2 separate regions of the Homo sapiens genome follow, and region 2 is linked to region 1. Evidence: promoter capture Hi-C in human tissues and cell types (Jung and others, 2019). All regions are on one chromosome and are shown on one strand. The core of a region is centred on a gene start or on the middle of the fragment in contact, and the rest is flanking DNA. Distances in the headings are between cores, read along the strand shown.

Region 1 (4,280 bases), core at 1,643-4,142:
CTGTGGCCCTTTAGGAAGCCTAGACCTAGGAGCTCCCTGTGACAACCTCTTTGGGGCTCTGCAGCTCCTGGCATCTCCAAGCTTCCAGGTGCCACTGCATTCCCTGGTGCCAGCTGTGGAAGCTGCTTGCAGTACACCTGGACCAGCCACAGCCTTGCAAGGGGCCAGCCCCTAGAGCTGCCCGCCCTCCTGCAGCTGGCATGCCGGGCTGTATACAGTGGCCGGACCCCATGCTTGCTCGCTCACACACCCCTCGCTGCTCCGCACCTGGCTTGCACTTGGCAGGTGTGGGATCCAGGCCGTAGTATGAGCAGAGTGCAGCCTGCTGGGACTGGTGGGCAGAATGAGCCCGACCAAAATTCGGGCAGAGGTGCCATTTTTCCAGCTGGAAAAGTGACACTCCAAGGATCCTGTGACAATGGCTCCACTGAAAAATGATTTCGAATAACTGTAATAATAGGTAAGGTCATTGTGAACGCATGTTAATCTTCAGTAGTCTAGTTTGATTTCTTTCAAACATTGCTTCTACTTAGCAACGCAATTGAAAAATAAATCTCCAATTTATAGGGGAAAAAAAACCTCCATAGATTGGAATAAAGGCCCTCTACTGTCTAGATCTCACCTGTGTTTCTAGATCTTGTACTATTCTACATGCACCTGTTGCTCCAACCTAGCTGAACTTCACTGTTCCTCAGGAAGCCCTCAGCAATGCTGTCTTAACTTCCTTTCTTCACATTTTCAATGTCGGGAAGATCTTTTCACTAGCAGCTTCCCCTTCCTTTACCCATATCCAAATCCTACCAGTCCTTTAAGACAGTGTTTCTTAAAACTGAATAATGAACAGACTCCTAAAATAAATTCTTATGATCCTAGAGAATGTTTTCAGTAGGCTGGGGTCCACAGACCAGTTTGAAAAGCACAAATATAAAGAACTAAAGAGCAATTGTATAAAATTATGCAAATGATCAAGTTGAAAGACAAATTTCATCTTTATAACTGGTAAAATAACTCGTATTTTGCCATAGAACTCTGATTCTTATCTTCAGATCTATGATCCGTTTAAGAAACACTAAGGCAAAGCTGAAACCTTGGAAAATGTTCCTGCATCACCCCAAGGTAATACATTTTTATTTTTTCTGATTTGGTGTCTAACAACTTTCTGCCTTGGAGTAGCTAGTAATATGTAGCATTTTCCTAGAAAACATAAGCTCTTTGAAGACAGGGACCACATTTTATTTATTTTTTATATGCACCACACCTAATACACAGTACATCCTCAGCAAGTACTGGCTGTAAAGCCTATATTCCATGCTCTTATTTTGTAGTCCAAATCACTTTAAAAATCACACTTCTTCTATTGTTCATACTCATAGAAGAGCATATTACTCAAATAGCTCTGCTATAAATTAACAGTAAGTTTCAGAAGTTATACCAAGTCACGAGACTCAGATTTTTAAAAAGTGCCACAAAGTGTCTCTTCTGTGTCAATGTTAATAGAACCCTTTCTTTAAATGATCAGTAGGCAAATTAAGAATTTCCGGATAAAGAACAAACTCTGGAAAAACAAAGCTAGTGGGAGAGGCCCTGTAAATACCTACCTAGTCTTACAAGGGCTGTCTCTAACTCAGCTTGTATTTTAGGCAGCGTCTTCAGTTTTTCAACTAATGTGTTTGAGAAAACTGTTTTCCTCGGACATGCAGGCGTGGACTCCTTACTTCAGGTAAGGTGACAGCAGCTTGACAGAGAGTGCCTTCCCTCCCACGGCATTTGGGACGAGGCTGAAGGAAAGACACAGGCGGGGTTACGGGAAACCCATTCTCTGCGCCATCTGGGCAAGCTGAAGTCAGTTTTTCCGCTTTCTCACGAGGTAATGGATTATCATGGGCTCAGGTCCCCTTCAGCTCTGAAACAGGTATTCTATGGCTCTAAGTAAACACGGCAAGAGACAGGTTATTTCTTTGGTAAGATCAGTTGTATTTCCCAGAGAATAAAACGGGCAACAAACCATTTATCGATATGTGAGTCTTCCCCCTAGGCCCTAGCTATTTGGGGTTGGATAAAGAAAAAGAGGGTTTGCTTCCTTTTTGGCGGGTCCTCCAATGACAGGGCTCCTGGCCCGCTGCGGGTCCAACTCCCACCTCTCGTGGCTCCCCCGAGGCCGAGCGAGGCTCCGTGCGAGGACAGCCCCTCAACCGCACTCCCCAGAGGGAGCGCTGGGACTCGCGGAGGAGATTAGTCCCCGGTCATAAACAACCTCTCACTTCCCCTCCCCCGCCCGCGCCCGCTCGCGCCGGGGCGGCGCGCCGGGGCGGCCCTCCGAGGCCCAGGAACCTCCTCCGGCGCCCGCGAGGCCCCGAGTCCTCCTCCGGAGGGCGGCTGCGGGCCTGCCCTCTTCTCCTAACCAGGTGTTTGTCCACTTTACTCAACCCTTCTTACTCGTCCACGCTACGGCCACCTCACAGGGGCGGCTGACGCCAGCCCCTTTTTCCCTCCCCTCGACCCCTATCACCTCCAACAGCCAAGGAGAGGCCGGCGGCCCTGACGCGCAGGCTCACCGCCGCGGCCGCCCCGCGCGCGCGGACGCGGCCCCCGCCCCCACCTCGCGGTCCTTCCGCAGTCCGGCCCCGCCCCTTCCCGAAGCCCGCCTCCGGGTCGGCCCGCCCGCCCGCTCGCGCGCACCCGACGCCCCGCCTCTGCGCGTGCTCAATAACTGTCCCCGGAGCCGGCCTACAAGCTTCCCCCGCCCCTGAGCTGTTTAAATATGCTAATGAAAGGATAGGGCCTGACCAGTAGAACGGCGAGGCGGTGTATCACGTGGCTCGGGGACGTGTCAGGGGCGGAGCCTCCGCAGCCCCTGCCCGAGTTAAAACCGGAGTGTGAGAGAGAAAAGCGCTTCAGTAGCGAGAGGGGCTGAGAAAGTGGTGACACCGCCGGGGTGCGGAGGGAGTCCCTGAAACTTCTCCCAACAGCCCCAGGGCCAATCTTCCCTCAGCCCACTCCCCTCTTCGCCAGCTCCCAGGTCCCCACTCCTGTACCGGGGGTGGGGTGGGGAGCCAGGCCCGTCTCCCGCTGGGACACACACAGGGGCCGGGAGCGGGGACGGGACCCCCGAGGCGGGGGGGACGAACCGACAGACAGACGGCTGGGCGCCCGCCCCAGCGGGCAGGCAGGCAGGAGGAGGCGGAGGCGGGGGTACGACGGGGAGCACTGGGTCTGGGGAGTTTCCTCTCAACTATCGGGGGAGAAACTCCCCGCAGCCGGAGGAAAGACCCAGACAGTGTTTTCCTCCCGGGGGCCGTGCTCCCCCGCCCCGCGTAGCGGCGGTCGCCGCCACCGGCGCCTCCACCTCTACCATCTCCTCTTTCTCCACCACCTCGGGCCCCGGTGTCCCCGGCCAGCACTATGCCCATCTTACTGTTCCTGATAGACACGTCTGCCTCTATGAACCAGCGCAGCCATCTGGGCACCACCTACCTGGACACGGCCAAAGGCGCGGTAGAGACCTTCATGAAGGTACCGACTGACCGAGCCCGGGCGGCGACCCCGGCCCGGCGGCCCGCGGGCGGCAGGGTGGGGGAGGGCGGCCGGGGCGGGGGTGTCGGGGACCTGACTGCGGGAGCTGCCGGGCTCGGGGACCCCCTCCCCCACCGCGCGGGCGGGCGGGCGCTGCGAGCCGGGTTCGGCCGGGGCCCGGGCTCCGGCCCCGGGCGGTGTGTGGGGAGCGATCTGTGTGTGGGGGACGGCGTGGAGGGGTGGCCGCTGCGTGTGCGGTACTGTGGGGGCGGCGGGGCCGCTGGGCGCCCCTTCTCCGCCTCGTAACCTCGCCTCTGTGCTTCCCTGTCGCCCGCCCTGTTCCTCCTCCCGTCCCGCAGCTCCGTGCCCGGGACCCTGCCAGCAGAGGAGACAGGTATATGCTGGTCACTTTCGAAGAGCCGCCCTATGCTATCAAGGTAACAGCCCTCGCCCTCCCCCTTTCCTCCCTTCCCTTCCCTGTTCCTTCCTCGCTCGCCCTCCCCGCCCCCCCATTCACCCTTCATTATGCTCCCCTCCCCCACCCGCTGCGCTCCCAGCCGCTGAGGTCTCTTCCCTGCGGGCTCCCACCCCCTCCCCCGCTCGGCAGCGTCCTAGCGCGGCGCGGAGTCGCGGGGCCACCGCCGTCCCCTCCCGGCCCGGCCCGGCAGCGGCGGCGGCGGCGGCGGCGGCGGCGCTGCTATCAACATGGCCGACATTTCCCCTCCGCGGCGTGAGCGGCAGCAATGAACTGTGGGGGATATTTATTC
Region 2 (4,280 bases), core at 988-3,487, 1.3 Mb after region 1:
TGATACCTCATGATGTGAGCAGTACTAATAATAGTTTATCCTGTTGCCATGTAAACACTGAGGAGCTAGCCCATTAATAAATGTGCTGGAAATACTGATCCTGTTCTAAAAATATCACTTCCTTTTCTCTTCAAGAAGCAATTTTCCAGGTTAATACAAATATGCAAGGAGAAGTGCTGAAGTTCTTCAGGGCCACCTGGAACTCTTGTAGATCCATTAGCTGGATGTCCCAAGTTCTTCTCACACTGTGAGAACTGGACTGAGCTGTCACTGCCATTGCCGACTTACTAAACCCTCCAAAAATGCAGCAGAGTCTGAGGTCGTGATGACCACTCCTTCATGGATCCATGGCACAAATCATGAAATGAGAGAATTATTTCCCTTGAGTTTGAACTTGGCCTCAGAACTTCTCTTGAACCCCTTGACACCCTCAAGCAGCCTTGATCAAGCAGAATAAAGACTTCACAGGAAGTCTTTTCCCCATACCTGAGCTAAGGCCTTCTGATCTCCCATAAAGAGCTACTGTGAAGATCAAACTCCAAATTAGGCTGTGAAATGACCTATATTTGTCTTCTGTGACCCTTAAGCTCTCTTAACAAGAGTTATCCCCCTTGTTTCTAAACTGCCAAAGTTTCATGCTGTATGTCTTCCCCTGGCCTACCTCCCATGAATGTTCTCAGGATCTTTCTTCCTCCAACCTGGTTCTCTGTTAAGACCCTTCTTTCTTAGTTCCAAAGATAACTGCTCATTTAGGCTGACAAACTCACCAAATGTGCAAATGCTCCACAGGAACATATTTGCATTTTTGAAAGTCCCTTCTGGAAACAATGGCCGGAATGACACCAATGGGGGAAATTTCAGACCTTAATGTGAATTGGCTAGAGGAGAAATTTGGGGACCTGAAAGAGAAACTGCTCTCAGTCATATCTCCTTAATTTTCTGTCAACCCTTTTTCAACCAGTGACTGACCTGGGTCTTTTCTAGATCCATTTCAGCAAGCCTACTTAACCACCGTATAAGAACATAACCCATAAAACACCCTCAAATTCCCAACAGAAGCTAAGGTAGCTGAAAAAAGAAGTACCTGATTTCCATGGGCACATGTTAAGTGGAAAAGTTTGCTCCCTTCACCCAAAAAAAATCTTGCCTCTGCAAGCACTAGCCTGGTACCTTCCAGAAGGTGAATAAATTAACTTGCCAATACCACTTAAGGCAAATGGCTTAATGTTTTCACCAGATCTGACCAGGCCCCAACAACAAGGAGTGGGTGGAGATGAGCGTGTATTTTCATTTATTTCACGAGCCCTATTCTCTGTGGACTTGTAGTTTCTAAACCTAGGTACAAAAAAAAGCTTTAACTGCATGAGTAACTTTTGTTTTGTGGTACATTATTGTTCACTTTCAATAATGTAACTCAAAAATGACTTATAGGATTACAAGAATATGGTATAAAATTTCTAATACAATTCAATGACCCTTAAGCAAAAACATGATCACCATCAACTGAAGTTATCCTATACAATGGCAGGAAACTGTCAAGCCCAATTATGTGAAAATGCAAGAGAAATGTTTAGACAAGCTCCTCACCAAGACTTTCCATTGCTCATACAATAGAGGAGGATTAAGATCAAAACTATAATATTATATCAGTTTTATGATTATAAAATATGCTATTCAAGTTAGTTCAACGTAGCATTGTCTGTCCTAGTACATATATTAGGATAACATTATAATGTATTTCTAAGAGGCAAATCACAGAAGCCACTTACCAATCAAAATGTGTAACTCCAGGTGAAGCTAGACAAAATTATTGATACAAATTTTCTCCAGAAGAGTGATTTAGGAATGCAAAATACTCTAGACACACCACCCATCCACAGTTGGTGTGTCTTGCTTTATTAGATGCAATCCATTTCCTCAGACACTTGTTCAATTGAGGTCTTGTAAAACTATTAGATTAGCATTGGGCATATAGTAAGTGCACAAAGAAATTTGTTGTTGTTGTTGTTGTTGTTGTTGTTGTTGTTGTTGTTTTGAGACGGAGTCTCGCTCTGTCACCTAGGCTGGAGTGCAGTGACGCGATCTTGGTTCACTACAAGCTCTGCCTCCCGGGTTCACGCCATTCTCCTGCCTCAGCCTCCCGAGTAGCTGGGACTACAAGGGCCTACCCCCGTGCCCAGCTAATTTTTTTTTGTATTTTTAGTAGAGACAGGGTTTCATGAAAGAATGAATGAGTGAATTGTTGGATAGACTAAGTATCTTCAATAAATGCAGAAAATGCCAGTGTAGAACCATATTACACTTTCTTCAAAAATGCTATTCTACTCTGCTTGTTAATTATCTCCTTAAGATAATTTCACTTTTTTAAATGTTTTAAGGCATTTGTTTTACTAGCAATGAATTAAATGTTAGTTAAGAATCTGCACGTCTAATCCATTTAGATATAGCATGTATTTTCTTCCTAGTTCATACATCTCATAAAATGCAAAAAAAAAGTATAATCCTGCTAGCATAAGTCATTAGCAGACAAAGATAAAAACTCATGAGCTCTGTGTTTTATTTTATCTCACATTCTGCTTCATAGTCCAACCAAGTTTCATAATGAAAATTTTTCTCAGCCGACGCCTCAAATGCTTTATTCTTCAAATACAATTGATTTGACCAATATCGCTGTGGTTTGGAAATGTTTTTCTTCCTGTTGGTCTCTGCCATGATCTCCTCTGGATATAGTTCAATTAGATGCCTTCTCACTTTTTCACAAGTTGCCTGTTATTGTAAAAGTTTGGGAAAACTTTGAAAAAGAACTATAAAACGTTTTCACTGTCAATAGAAAAAAATGGATTGCTTGAGCCAGACACAGCTCCCCATAGAGCTAACCTTTTGATCCTGGAATCCTTTCATGCGCTTAAGTCTTCACTAGCGTCAATGGGAGTGTTGTGTATGCAAGGGCAGCAGGATCAAGTTCAGTCTCTTCTTTAGTACTCTGTAGCCAAGTGGGGTAGCCAGCTGAATCTGGTTTAGTTAAAAAAAAAAAAAAAAAAAAAAAAACACAACACTTTCCTGATGCTTTGAAGTTTTTTGGGCAGTGTAATAATATCAGGATTTGTAGGACGTTATTTTGCATAATCCTTAATAAGATATTCTTATGGCTTCAAAAAGTTAGTGGGTTAAGAGAAGCAAGAACCTCCAGCACTCATAGGAAATATTTTTTTAAGTTCTGGGTAGAAATGGCTCAAAATGCATCTCGGGAAGATACATAATTATAAGACTGTCCAAATGTGTGTTCAGGCAGGAATGCACCTAAAACTATTCTTCATAGATGGATTTCTACTCTATCTTTAAAAGATAGAGATATAATATAATAATCTCTCAAAAGCTCTGATGAAAACAAAGAAGCTTGCTGGAGGATTCTACTATGTGTGTGGATTAAGTAACTCTGTGACTAATCCAACTATTTGAATCAAAACAAGGCATTCCTTTAGAATCTTTATCACTCTAACCTCACACTCACTCACTGATGAGGACTTTTTTCCAGGCAAGGTCAAAGGGCTGACCAAGGTGATTCTGCACCACCAAATAGAAAGGAGGCTGGAGAAGGGAGAAGTGCAGCGGCAGGATACAGAAGCCACAAAATCTCTCTGCTGGAAGCCAGTTCACCTTATTATTACCAAGAAACTGAGGTTCACTTTCTGGCATTTTGGCCTGAGCATTAAAATTTTAAATTAACACCATTGAACACAACCTACTCTTTTTTTTAATGAGCATTTTATTGTCACTTTGTGGAAGGGTACTGAAACCTCTGATTTAGTATAATCATATGATTATGATTTATTCATATTGGGAATTCAGCAGCATGGGCAACAACAACTCGGGTCTGGGGGGAAAAAAAACAGCCTCACTAAATAAGGGATGGTCCCACCACTAAATATGGGGTTAGGAGTGAGTTTCTCTTTGGTTAAATACACATGCACACATATTTCAGTAGCACGACAAAGCGAAAACAAACAGAATAAAGGTGAACATTGTACTTGGTAGTTGGAAATGAAGTGTGTCATTTTAATATATATGAATAACTGATTTTTCCCCACTTTTTGGAATCCAGATGTTGGTAATCTTTGCCTCAGAATGACGATTGCCTTTTTAAGAAATCTCTTAAAACTTTAGTAGTGGTCCTCACACAAAAAGACACTGGGTCTGGGCACGGTGGCTCATGCCTGTAATCCCAGCAATTAGGGAGGTTGAGGCAGGCAGATTACCTGAGGTCAGGATTTCGAGACCAG

What was found. The method cuts DNA at HindIII sites, captures the fragments that hold promoters and counts their contacts. A contact is called where the count stands out against the background at its distance.
Region 2: a contact is called between a fragment that was not itself captured here and the fragment with the promoter of INTS6 in region 1, in 1 of the 25 tissues and cell types used here (lymphoblastoid cells).

What each region holds. Positions count from the first base shown.
Region 1 is chr13:51,451,648-51,455,927 of GRCh38, reverse strand. INTS6 (integrator complex subunit 6) reads left to right here and starts at 2,892. Exons shown (of 18, transcript NM_012141.3): 1 at 2,892-3,513; 2 at 3,873-3,950. The coding sequence starts at 3,403. It overlaps INTS6-AS1 (INTS6 antisense RNA 1), which reads right to left and starts at 2,583. Exons shown (of 2, transcript NR_103812.1): 1 at 2,510-2,583; 2 at 1,212-1,925. RefSeq lists silencers at 2,127-2,446, 2,537-2,736, 2,967-3,226, 3,467-3,736, 3,747-3,866 and 2 more and an enhancer at 2,857-2,906. The HindIII fragment of the contact is 6,572 bases long and covers 1-4,280 here.
Region 2 is chr13:50,155,559-50,159,838 of GRCh38, reverse strand. All of the region lies in intron 2 of DLEU1 (deleted in lymphocytic leukemia 1), which reads right to left. Among named protein-coding and RNA genes, the nearest start is that of DLEU2, 32 kb to the right of the region's middle. The HindIII fragment of the contact is 5,908 bases long and covers 1-4,280 here.